4 separate regions of the Homo sapiens genome follow, and all the other regions are linked to region 2. The links are contacts of gene promoters, found by promoter capture Hi-C in blood cells and fetal thymus (Javierre and others, 2016). All regions are on one chromosome and are shown on one strand. The core of a region is centred on a gene start or on the middle of the fragment in contact, and the rest is flanking DNA. Distances in the headings are between cores, read along the strand shown. Region 1 has its middle 140 kb from the start of HS3ST2. Region 2 holds the start of METTL9 (methyltransferase 9, His-X-His N1(pi)-histidine). Region 3 has its middle 35 kb from the start of LINC02890. Region 4 has its middle 19 kb from the start of LINC02890.

The links. Contacts are between HindIII fragments. The CHiCAGO score rates a contact against its expected background, and 5 or more counts as called.
Region 1: a fragment that was not itself captured here is called in contact with the fragment with the promoter of METTL9 in region 2 in 2 of 17 cell types (naive B cells and monocytes); the score reaches 6.3 in naive B cells.
Region 3: a contact is called between a fragment that was not itself captured here and the fragment with the promoter of METTL9 in region 2, in 1 of 17 cell types (M2 macrophages). The highest score is 6.8, in M2 macrophages.
Region 4: a fragment that was not itself captured here is called in contact with the fragment with the promoter of METTL9 in region 2 in 1 of 17 cell types (M2 macrophages); the score reaches 5.1 in M2 macrophages.

Annotation. Positions count from the first base shown.
Region 1 is chr16:22,951,933-22,954,632 of GRCh38, forward strand. No RefSeq gene overlaps it. Among named protein-coding and RNA genes, the nearest start is that of HS3ST2, 140 kb to the left of the region's middle. RefSeq lists an enhancer at 1,619-2,129. The HindIII fragment of the contact is 4,976 bases long and covers 1-2,700 here.
Region 2 is chr16:21,598,195-21,600,894 of GRCh38, forward strand. METTL9 (methyltransferase 9, His-X-His N1(pi)-histidine) reads left to right here and starts at 1,383. Exons shown (of 5, transcript NM_016025.5): 1 at 1,383-1,704. The coding sequence starts at 1,540. LOC101927814 (a long non-coding RNA gene) reads right to left here and starts at 1,191. Exons shown (of 3, transcript NR_110930.1): 1 at 462-1,191. RefSeq lists a silencer at 1,370-1,989 and an enhancer at 2,098-2,662. The HindIII fragment of the contact is 7,148 bases long and covers 1-2,700 here.
Region 3 is chr16:22,647,306-22,650,005 of GRCh38, forward strand. No RefSeq gene overlaps it. Among named protein-coding and RNA genes, the nearest start is that of LINC02890, 35 kb to the left of the region's middle. The HindIII fragment of the contact is 251 bases long and covers 1,150-1,400 here.
Region 4 is chr16:22,630,929-22,633,628 of GRCh38, forward strand. No RefSeq gene overlaps it. Among named protein-coding and RNA genes, the nearest start is that of LINC02890, 19 kb to the left of the region's middle. The HindIII fragment of the contact is 1,649 bases long and covers 486-2,134 here.

The DNA.
Region 1 (2,700 bases), core at 114-2,613, 1.4 Mb after region 2:
AGTCAATTGCTTAGTCATACTACTGGCTCCAAAGCCTGCCTCTAACCACTCTGCTCCACTGCCCTAATGGGCATCCTATGAGAGTAGCCGCCTGTCATTCCTTGATGTATCCCTAGTATACTTGAGGCATTCAGTAAATATTTAGTGACTGAATCAATGTTCAAATACTTTAATGACTTTTTGCCAGCTTGTCTAGAGGCCTTTCCTGCAAAGTTTTATAATTTAGTCATAAATATATTTGGTTGTAATGTTATATGTTTCATTATGTCTCGTGATCCCAAAATTACTTTATGAATTAAATATCTTGAAAAATAGAGTGGAATTCAATACAATTCTGAACCCATCTACCACATGTCTTCATCCTTGCTGTCAAAATGCCAGTGCCTTCTTAAACAGGAGAGAACATTGACTACATACAAACTTGGTTTAGCTCATGAAGTTTACTCAGACATGCATAGTACAAAACAAAAAAAAATCAAGGAGACAAAAATAATCAAAAGGGATGAATTTAGTAAATCCTGTACAAAATGCTGCAGGTCTGAAAATATTTATTGGAAGAAATATACACATTCAAGAGAGGTTATTCAGCAGACAGAAGAGAAAAAAGGCACCACAAAGATAAAGTGGTACAAATTTGGAAAAATGTTTCACAGAAGTAAAAAATTGTTTGAAATTCCTTTAGGCAAAGTGAAGAAAATATCCTTTCATTTATAAGACCAGGAAACCAAGTGACTGGCTGCAGATAAATGAGCTAGTGTCAATCAGAATGGGTTAAGTCCTGCTGCAGGAACAATCTCAAATCTTAGTGGCTTGACACAGCGAAGGTTATTTCTTGTTCATTTCACATTTCCAGCACAGGTTGATAACTGCTCCATGTTATCTTAATTCTGGGACTCTGGTTGATAGCACATCCTCTACTTAAAATATTACTAAGAGAGGCCGAGCGTGGTGCCTTACGCCTGTAATCCCAGCACTTTGGGAGGCTGAGGCGGGAGGATCACAAGGTCAGGAGTTCAAGACCAGCTTGGCCAACATAGTGAAACCGCATCTCTACTAAAAATACAAAAAAATTAGCCAGGCATGGTGGTGCGTGCCTGTAGTCCCAGCTACTAGGGAGGCTGAGGCAGGAGAATCACTTGAACCTGGGAAGCAGAGGCTGCAGTGAGCTGAGATCAAGCCACTGCACTCCAGCCTGGGTGACAAAGCGAGACTCCATCTCAAAAAAAATAAAAAAAAAAAAGAATACGACGAAGAGGTTCTTAACTGTGTACTAGCTTTTAATGGTTCTGCTTAGAAGTGACACAAGTCATTTCTGCTTACATTTAATTGACCAAAGCAAATTTCGTGGCTAAGAAGGAATGATTGGGCTCCTGGCAATCTCTGCAATATTGTTCTCCACCTTGCTGCCACAATCCTGAATGTGGACACATCTGCCTTCTCCTACCCTCCCCTACTGGCCTTTGTGGTGCTACCCTGTCTTGCTATGTCCATCTTTGCATCAAGACTTCTGGGTCTTGGAGGCTGGCCTCTCTTCCTCCTCCTTTACCCCAAAGTGCTTCTCAGCTTTCTGCTCTCCTTGCCCAGAGGTGACATGTAAGCCACATCCAGCAAAAAAGATGTGTTTTGTTTGGCCCATACAGGGTTGCTCATATTGTTTGTAATTTGTTCCCAATATTTAAAAACCAAACTGAATGCTCTTCTTCAATTAATTGGAGGATCTGGCCACACTGGACCACATTCCTTTGTGGACACAGGTAGCTCAGCTGAGTAAAGCTGGCCCTGTAGAGGAAGCAGGTGCTTGCATCTCTCCCTGGGCCCACCTGGTCCGCTGATGCTACTTATGTTACTGAATAAGCCACCCGGGAGCTCCAGATTTCCCCCCTGGGAAGGGGGAATCGCCTTAATTTAGTTGGTATCTACATGCAAATGACAATTTAAATCACAGTGCAGTCATGATCTCTTACCTGCATTTCAAGCCTGGATTTCTAACATCTATTAATCCTTCCTGCTCCCAAGACCATTTCGATGTGGCTCATGATTCTGCCATGTTCAAAACTATGGGCCTCAGGTGAGTTACTTAATCTCTATAACTCCTTAACTCATATGTAAAAATAAGAAAACGAAGTTACTATAAGACATAGGAACTTTACGACCCCCTGGTAGGATGCACTGAGATGAACACAACCTCATGTTGGTGGAATCCTTGTCTAAAATGCACAAGCACAATTTAATCATGAGAAAACATCAGACAAACCCAGATTGAGAGACAGTCTACAAAATAACTGACCAGTGCTCATCAAAAGTGTCAAGGTCATGAAAGACAAGAAATGGCACAGCCTGGAGGAAACCAAGGAGGCACAACAATTAAATGCAGTGTGGGCTGGGCGTGGTGGCTGACGCCTGTAATCACAGTACTTTGGGAGGCCAAGGCAGGTGGATCACTTGAGGTCAGGAGTTCGAGACCAGCCTAGCCAATGCAGTGAAACCCTGTCTCTACTAAAAATACAAAAAATTAGCCTGGCATGGTGGTGCACGCCTGTAATCCCAGCTACTCGGGAGGCTGACACAGGAGAATCACTTGAACCCAGGAGGCAGAGGTTGCAGTGAGCCGAGATCGCACCACTGCACTCTAGCCTGGGCGACAGAGTGAGGCTCCATCTCAAAAATTAAAAAAATAAAAAAAATAAAACAAATGTAATG
Region 2 (2,700 bases), core at 133-2,632:
AAAAATTAGCTGGGCATGGTGGCGCGCACCCGTAGTCCCAGCTGCTCGGGAGGCTGAGGCAGAAGAATTGCTTGAACCCGGGAGGCGGAGTTTGAAGTGAGCCGAGATCGAGCCACTGCACTCCAGCCTGGAGACAGAGCGAGACTCCACTCCGTTTCAAAAAAAAAAAAAAAAAAAAGCTGTTGGGTAAGGAATGATTTTGTTCCCCATCTGTGGCTCACCACCCCACTGTTTCATAAATGAAAATCTCTGATGTGCAACGCTGAATTAACCAAAAGGCTTACTTCTTTTGTTTTGAACTTAGACACATTTACATTATTTCTGGTGCAGTTAAATTAAAAGCACTTTCCAAACAAACCTAGGAAAGTATTAAAGTTAGGGACTCCCACGAAATGTTACTCCTTAATTGTGGCTTGGATAATAGCAGGAAGAACTGCAGACAGGAACACAGTGTAACTAACCCTTCAGTTCTGAAATGTTGCTAGGTCTCCTCGTGTTATAAATGATCAAATAAATATCCGGGTTAAACACTGCTCCCAGAGCTGAGTTCACTCTTAAGAGTGTTGGGTCCAACTTCCCTGTGCTAATTCAAGGAAACAAGGCAGCCAAGGAGTCTAACTTGAGGTCTTCATTCTTGGGCAGGGCCATCAATACATCTAAAACATTACTTGTGGGTACCCCAGCTGCGGTAGCTTCCCCAAAAGGCAGAATTTTCACTCATTCTTTATAGAAACACGTAGCCAGCAACTTCTCAGGCTTGGGGAACGGGGCAGGCGGGTCGTGGTGGTGGGGAGAGTAGAGGAGGGAGTCTGGCAGGTCGGTTCTAAATGTAAACTGGAAACTACGCATCCGAGCGGGCAACCATCACTGGCACCATTCGTCTCCGGGAAGAACCTGTGTGTGTCAGGATGCACGAAAGGAATGACTCCCCTCTTTGCGCCCCCGGGGTTAACTGCACGACCCTGTCAAAGTCCCGCCGTGGAGTGGGATGAGGGTCGAGAGGTAACCCTGTCAAAGTCCCGCCGTGGAGTGGGATGAGGCGAGGAAAGACTGGAGGTCCTTCCAGCACCACCTTGGAGGGGCAGGGAGGCTGCAGTTACCGCCTTCGGAAGTGATCTCCTCAGCCCTCAAAAAAATTAAAACCACCTCCGCCATTTACTAGAGGCCAAGGCAGGGCCGGGACACGAGAACGCGCTCCGGGCGGATGCGCGCTCCCTTTGTCCCGCCTCCCAGCGGCCCGCTCATTGGACGGAGGGAGGGCGCCGGGGGAGAAAGCGACGCGGCCGCTCGTAAGTGCTCCGGATGGAAACTGGTGCAGGGGGCAGCGGCGTTCCGCGGCCGGAAGGGAAGGGGGAGGTGCCGAGGCTGCGCGCCGGCTGCTCCTCCCCACCCCCAGCCTTTGCCCTGAAGGGGGCTGGATGGGCAAGGCGGCCGCGATGGCTCGAGCTCGGGCGGTGGCGGCGGTGGCCGGAGGCGGCGGTGCCTCCTCCTCCTCGCCCCGGCGCCGGCGGTGATCCGAGCGAGCGGCCGCGGCCCCCGATGAGACTGCTGGCGGGCTGGCTGTGCCTGAGCCTGGCGTCCGTGTGGCTGGCGCGGAGGATGTGGACGCTGCGGAGCCCGCTCACCCGCTCCCTGTACGTGAACATGACTAGCGGCCCGGGTGGGCCGGCGGCGGCCGCGGGCGGCAGGAAGGAGAACCACCAGGTACGGGCTGGGGCCGGGGCCGGGGCGGGGGCGTGGCGGCCCGGCCTTCCCGCGCTGGGCCCGGCTATTGTGCGGGACGGCTCCGCGAGGGGGCGGCCCGGCCCTCGCCCCTCCGCCTCGGCCCCTTGGAAAGTTTTCCCCGCGCCTTCCCCGCCGGGCGTCGACTCCGCGAGCCCCGGGCACCCGGCCGCGGCCCCGCGAGCGCCTTTTGTTCCGCAGCGCAGGCGGGGCATGGCCTCCCGGGCCCGATCGTGAGCGGCCCGGAGCCCCGCATTGTTCCTGGGTCCCGGGCGGTGACTGCGGACGCCCGGCAGCGGGACTGGGGAACTTTGGGGCCAGAGCGTGGCTGGGGGCGCCCGCCTGGCACCGAGGCCTGAGACTGAAGAGACCCGGCCAGATCCATTACCCCGAGAAACAAAACGAAAAGCCAGCCCCTCTTGTTGTCTCGTTGAATCCCAGAACGTACAAAGGGTCGTGAAGAAATGTAACTGTACATCGCAAGCCATTGAACTCTCCAGGCTGATTGGGGTGACATTTCTCCCTAAGCACTTAAAAAATGGGTTTGACAGGTTGTCGCTCCCATCCTACGGAACCTTCCCCTCCTACCTAGCAGAGATCTCCTTTAAACTTGGATTTAGTCAGCCTGCTAGAAAGATTGTGTGTGATGAGGAGGAAGATTATGCAAGTTTTACAGGAAGGGTTTTTAAAACAGAACGGGACGGGAGGGAGTTTTAGTTATGCATCGTGAGCGTTACGCTGTGACCGGGTAGGTAGGCTTTTCATTAGCTCAGTCTTGCGCCACTTAAACGTGTACAGGTTAACTGTAGAATTAAGTGAGATATTTCGTATATGACCTTAACATAGTTTGCAGTTAATGTTAAATTCATTGAAAAGAGGCTTTTGAACTCTGCCAGAGTGTTGGCTTGTCATAGCTAGCATTTATAATACATTTTGCTTTTCCATAGAGTATTAATTATTCCCTATATCATCTTGTGT
Region 3 (2,700 bases), core at 25-2,524, 1.0 Mb after region 2:
CAAGGAACTGAGCGTCCTCCTGACCAACAGGCTGAGGAGATTGTTGGGAGTTCTTGTGGGCCAGGCTCTTATCGGTGAGCTGTATGGAGAACACCATCTCTCAGATTTATCCATAATTTTAATGAATGCTCTGTTTGAGATAATGACCCATATCTTGACTTGCACAAAGCCCTGAAAATACTTCTACGAATTGTGTTTTATCTGAAGTACTGCAGCATGCAGCATCCAACATTACCATTGATATCATCTATTGAGAACTCTTTCCCAGGTTCTTTATTAAGGTTTAATTAAATTTTATGTCTTATCAATTAGGATTAATCTATATTTAGTCTGAATTAGAGGGAGCCAATTATAAATAACACCACTTCTCATTTATTCCTGAATACAAAATGAAGGTTTTTAAACTTTCTTTGGAGGAAAAAATAAAAAACCTCACAACCCCCCTGACTCAAATGTGTCCCTTTAAAGAGTTTTATGCCCAGGAGACCACAAATTCTATTATAATAAAGTGAAAAGATGATAATTCCTATAGGAAGGTGTTACAGACAGAAATGGGGGTCCGGAGGGAAAAGAGAGAGAATTTCTGTTATGATGTGGGCAATTGAAACAAAGAGATTTTCAACTTTAAAGTTTTCACTTGGAGCAATGGCACAAAGATAAACTGAATTTTCCAAGGTTATTGTGACATCTCTGTTTCTAGAAGAGGACAGACCAGCTTGTGCCCTGCGGTTGTGTTCAATGCTGTTAATTAAATATTTCCAATTCTGTTACTTCTGGGCACGAATTGGATCATACTCCTCCCCTCTCTTCACCTTGAAGTCAAATGTGGGCATGGGACTCGTTTGGTCAATGAAATGCAAGAAGAAGCAATATCTGTCAGTTCCATTTGGAAGCGCCCATATGGACTAGAGTGCAATTTCTCATGTTTTCTTCCTCCTGCTGCAGTGGTCATGGAAACACAATTCAGACAAAAGCCCCATTAGCCCAAGATGGGTGGCGTCTTCTCTGCCAGCCTGCATTGTTTGTGCAACATGAGCAAGAAGTAAACTTTTGTTGTGTTAAGCCATTGAGATGTTGAGGTTTTTGTTACTTCAGCGTCATGTAGCTTATCCTGCCTTATAGAAGCTCTATAAGCTTTAGTTTCTTCTAAGCTTTGGTACTGACTTCATTGGGTTGTTATATGAGGAAGAATAATGAAGTAATTAACAAAAAGTGTTTCATTTAGTGCTGGCACACAAGTACTCGGTAAATATTAGTGCTTCCTATTATTGTTGTTGTAGTTGGGGATGTCTATGTATTATGGCTAAATGATCCTATTTGGAATATTCTGATGGTATGTTCAAAGTTTATTTAAACTCTTAGTATTTCAATGTCTTGCCTTTCCACCTGATCAGAACAGAAGCTTCACATCGAGCACTTCTATTACCCCCTGCTAAAGAGTTTACAAAGCCTTCTAATGCACAGTTCTATTTACTTTCTTCTTTCCCTTACAACGCTATTGAATAGTCCTGTGGTATATAGTTTAAGAAAAGGCAAAAAGCCTTATGATAAAAGTCTGTTTAGGAAGGTACTGTGTTTTCAAATGAGCCTTTGGAGATCCGGCCTGCATAGGCTTTCTGGCAGACCTGTGAATTCAAGGACCCCCTTTCCAAAATTATCCAGAGTAACTTGTAATTTATAACTTGGGTTTCTGTACATGTTCCGGCCTGGACCTCATTTAAGTGCGTCCAGCCAATATACAGTGGTGTAAGCCATGAGGTTTGTAGAGACTCAAATTCTTGTTGTGACCAATATAACAGGTACACACTGTGAACTCGTCCCATGAGCTTGGTGCATTATTGAGCCAAGAATCCTCTAGAGGTTGCCTCATAGTAGGAAATCAGAGAGCTATCCAGGAACAATGGTGAGACCAGTTCAAATATTACCTGGACCCAGCATTTAGAAAGTCCAGTTCTTATGGATGCAAAGGTCTTGTTCTAGAATCAGGGTGTGGTCCCAATATACGCAAACTCACCACAGTTGGGAGGATTTTGGTTGCAAGTGACAGAAACCCAGCACAAACCCCAAAGGAAAATCATTGGCTCTTGTAACCCAGAAATTTAATGGATAAACCCTTCCAGCTTCAAGTATGGCTGTATGTAGGTGTCCAAATGATGTCATTAGCTCTTTCTCTTCCCCCACTCTAACTCGTTTTCTCTGTATCTACTTTCTTTTTTATCAAACTCTATCTACATGGCAGCAAATATGGCATTGGCACCTGTAGGTTCCCATTGCTTTTATTGCAGTGATCCCAGAAACAAGACTGCCTCTTTTTTTTTTTTTTTTTTTTTTTTTGATAGTTTCAGGAAAAATAGTTGGGAGGGTGCCAGGGCTAGTTTTTCTGTTTCTTTTCTTTTTTAAACTTTTATTTTAAGTTCAGGGGTACAAGTGCAGGTTTGCTACATAGGTAAACTTGTGTCATGGGGGTTTGCTGTAGGTTATTTAATCATCCAGGAATTAAGCCTAGTACCTATTAGTTATGTTTCTGGATCCTCTCCTGCTCCCACCCTCCACTCTCTGAAAGGCCCCAGTGTGTGTTTTTCCCCTCTATGTGTCCATGTGTTCTTATCATTTAGCTCCCACTTATGAGAACGTGTGGTATTTAGTTTTCTGTTCATGTGTTAGTTTGCTAAGGATAATGGCCCCCAGCTCCATCTGTGT
Region 4 (2,700 bases), core at 60-2,559, 1.0 Mb after region 2:
AGATCACACCACTGCACTCCAGCCTGGGCAACAGAGTGAGACTCTGTCTCAAAAAAAAAAATCTACTCTTAGCAATTTTCAAGTATACAATACATTATTATTATTATTATTATTAATTATTATTATTATTACTTTGGACAGAGTCTTGCTCTGTTGCCCAGGCTGGAGTGCAGTGGTACCATCTCAGCTCACTGCAACCTCCCCCTCCCCAGTTCAAGTGATTCTCATGTCTCAGCCTCCCAAGTAGCTGGGATTACAGGCGCACGCCACTATACCAGGCTAAGTTTTGTATTTTTTGTAGAGATGAGGTTTCACCATGTTGGCCAGGCTGCTCTCGAACTCCTGAACTCAAGCTATCTGCCCACCTCGGCCTCCTAAAGGGCTAGGATTACAGCCGTGAGTCACTACACCTTGCTTACAATACGTTATTATTAACTATAGTCACCATGCTATGCAATGGATCTCCTGAACTTATTCCTAACTGAAGCTTTGTACCCTTTGACCTACATCTGCCCATCGCTTTCCCCTCCCCTTGCCCCTGACAATCACCATTCTCGATTTTTCTTACGCAATAGTAAATCTTGGAGATTTGTCCATGTTAGTAGACATACATCTACCTCGTGGTTTTAACTCCTGCATAATATTCAAAGTATGAACGTGCCACAGTTTATTCTGTAACTCCACTAATGGACATTTTGGTTATTTCTACTGTGTTTTCCTCTATAATAAGCAGTACTACAACAAATATCCTTCTATATACCTCCTTATGCACATGTGTGAGTGATTCTCTATGGTTGATACCAAGACTGAAATTTCTGGGCCATGAGGCAGGCCCATGTTAAAATTAAGTTCTCCTTTTTGAATAGGTCACACATTTAGTTAATTCAAAAATAAAAAATGATATGCAAGATATATGTCACAAAGTCTTTCCCCCATCTTTTTCCTAATCTATTTTCCCTTCTCTCACCCCTGTAGATATTAATTTGTTGTGTATACCTCCACAGTTCCTTTATGAAAACAAAGCAAAGAAGAACATGTATTCCTATTTTCTCTTCTTTCTTACACAAAAGATACCATACTATATATATATATATATATATATATATATATATATTCTTCTTTATTTCACTTTTTTTCACTTGATAATATATCTTGGAGCTCTTCCCATAACCATAAATCTTCTATAACTATAGAGAGTGTATACTCATGCTATTTTTTTTTTTTTTTTTTGGAGACAGAGTCTTGCTCTGTGGCCCAGGCTGGAGTGCAGTGGCACAATCTCAGCTCACTGCAACCTCTGCCTCCTGGGTTCAAGTGATTCTATTGCCTCAGCCTCCTGAGTGGCTGGGATTACAGGCACGTGCCACCACGCCTGGCTAATTTTTGTACTTTTAGTAGAGATGGGGTTTCACCATGTTGGCCAGGCTGGTCTTGAACTCCTGACCTCAAGTGATCCACCTGCCTTGGCCTCCCAAAGTGCTGGGATTACAGGTGTGAGCCACAGCACCCGGCTAACTCATGCCTTTTTACATAGTATTTAATTTACATAGTATTTCTTTACATAGATGTGCTATAATTTTTTTAACTAGTCTCTTATAGATCACTTTTCCCTGATCTTTTGCTACTACAAACAAGACATAAGCATTTTATTATTTTTTAAAATTTTTGTAGATTTAGGCTTTGAGATGTTTTATTCATTCATTTAGTTATCCAAGTATGTATGTCTGTACTAAATATTTGCTAAGGTCTTGTGTGGTGGCATTATCTTAGGCACTGCTGATAACAGGATTCACAGAACAGGCACAGCCTTTCTTCTCACAATGCTTAAGATCTTGTTAGGACAACAGACCTTGGAAAGAAAACACAATCGTAATGTATTTCCATAATGAATATGAACCTCTGTTAACCCATCCAAGATTTTTTTTTTCCCTCGTGATCGCACATTTTGTGGAGGAAATGTATAATTATGCTTGTGAGACAGAGAAAAACTAACTGGGCCATGAGGACCTGAATCCATTGCCTCCGTAATTATTACAGAGACAGGCACATTTTAAATTTCAATAGACATAGCCATGCTGCCTTTCAAAGGGGTTGTGCAGTTTACATGTCCACCTGGGTGGATTTTATTTTTAAAAGCTTTTTATTTATACTTATTTAATTTAAAAAATTATTTATTTATTTAGAGACAGGATCTCACTTTGTCACTCATGCTGGAGTGCAGTGACGTGAGATCGTAGCTCATTGTAGCCTTGAATTCCTGGGCTTAAGGGATTCTCTTGCCTCAGCCTCCCTGTAGCTGGGCCTACAGGCACACCTCACCATGCTTAGCTAATTTTTTATGTTTTGTAGAGATGGGGATGTCTTGCTATGTTGCCCAGGCTGGTCCTAAACTCCTGGCCTCAAGCGATCCTCTCACCTCGGCCTCCCAAAGTGTTGGGATTACAGGCATGAGCCACAACAGCTGGCCTTGGGTGGATTTTTAAAGGAGCCAAAATAGAACAGACACTGGCACCTTCTGCTTTAGCCAGATAAAACTCCTGTGGTTCCCAGAACAGGACGCACGTCGTCAAGTGTTCTTGCAACAGCAAGAGAACACTCTTGATGGAAACCCCCCTTTCTACAGTTTGTCTGTCTAGCTAACATCTTCCTCTAAGCTACACCATGAAAATCTGTGGCACCATCTCCAACCCCTGTAGGTAG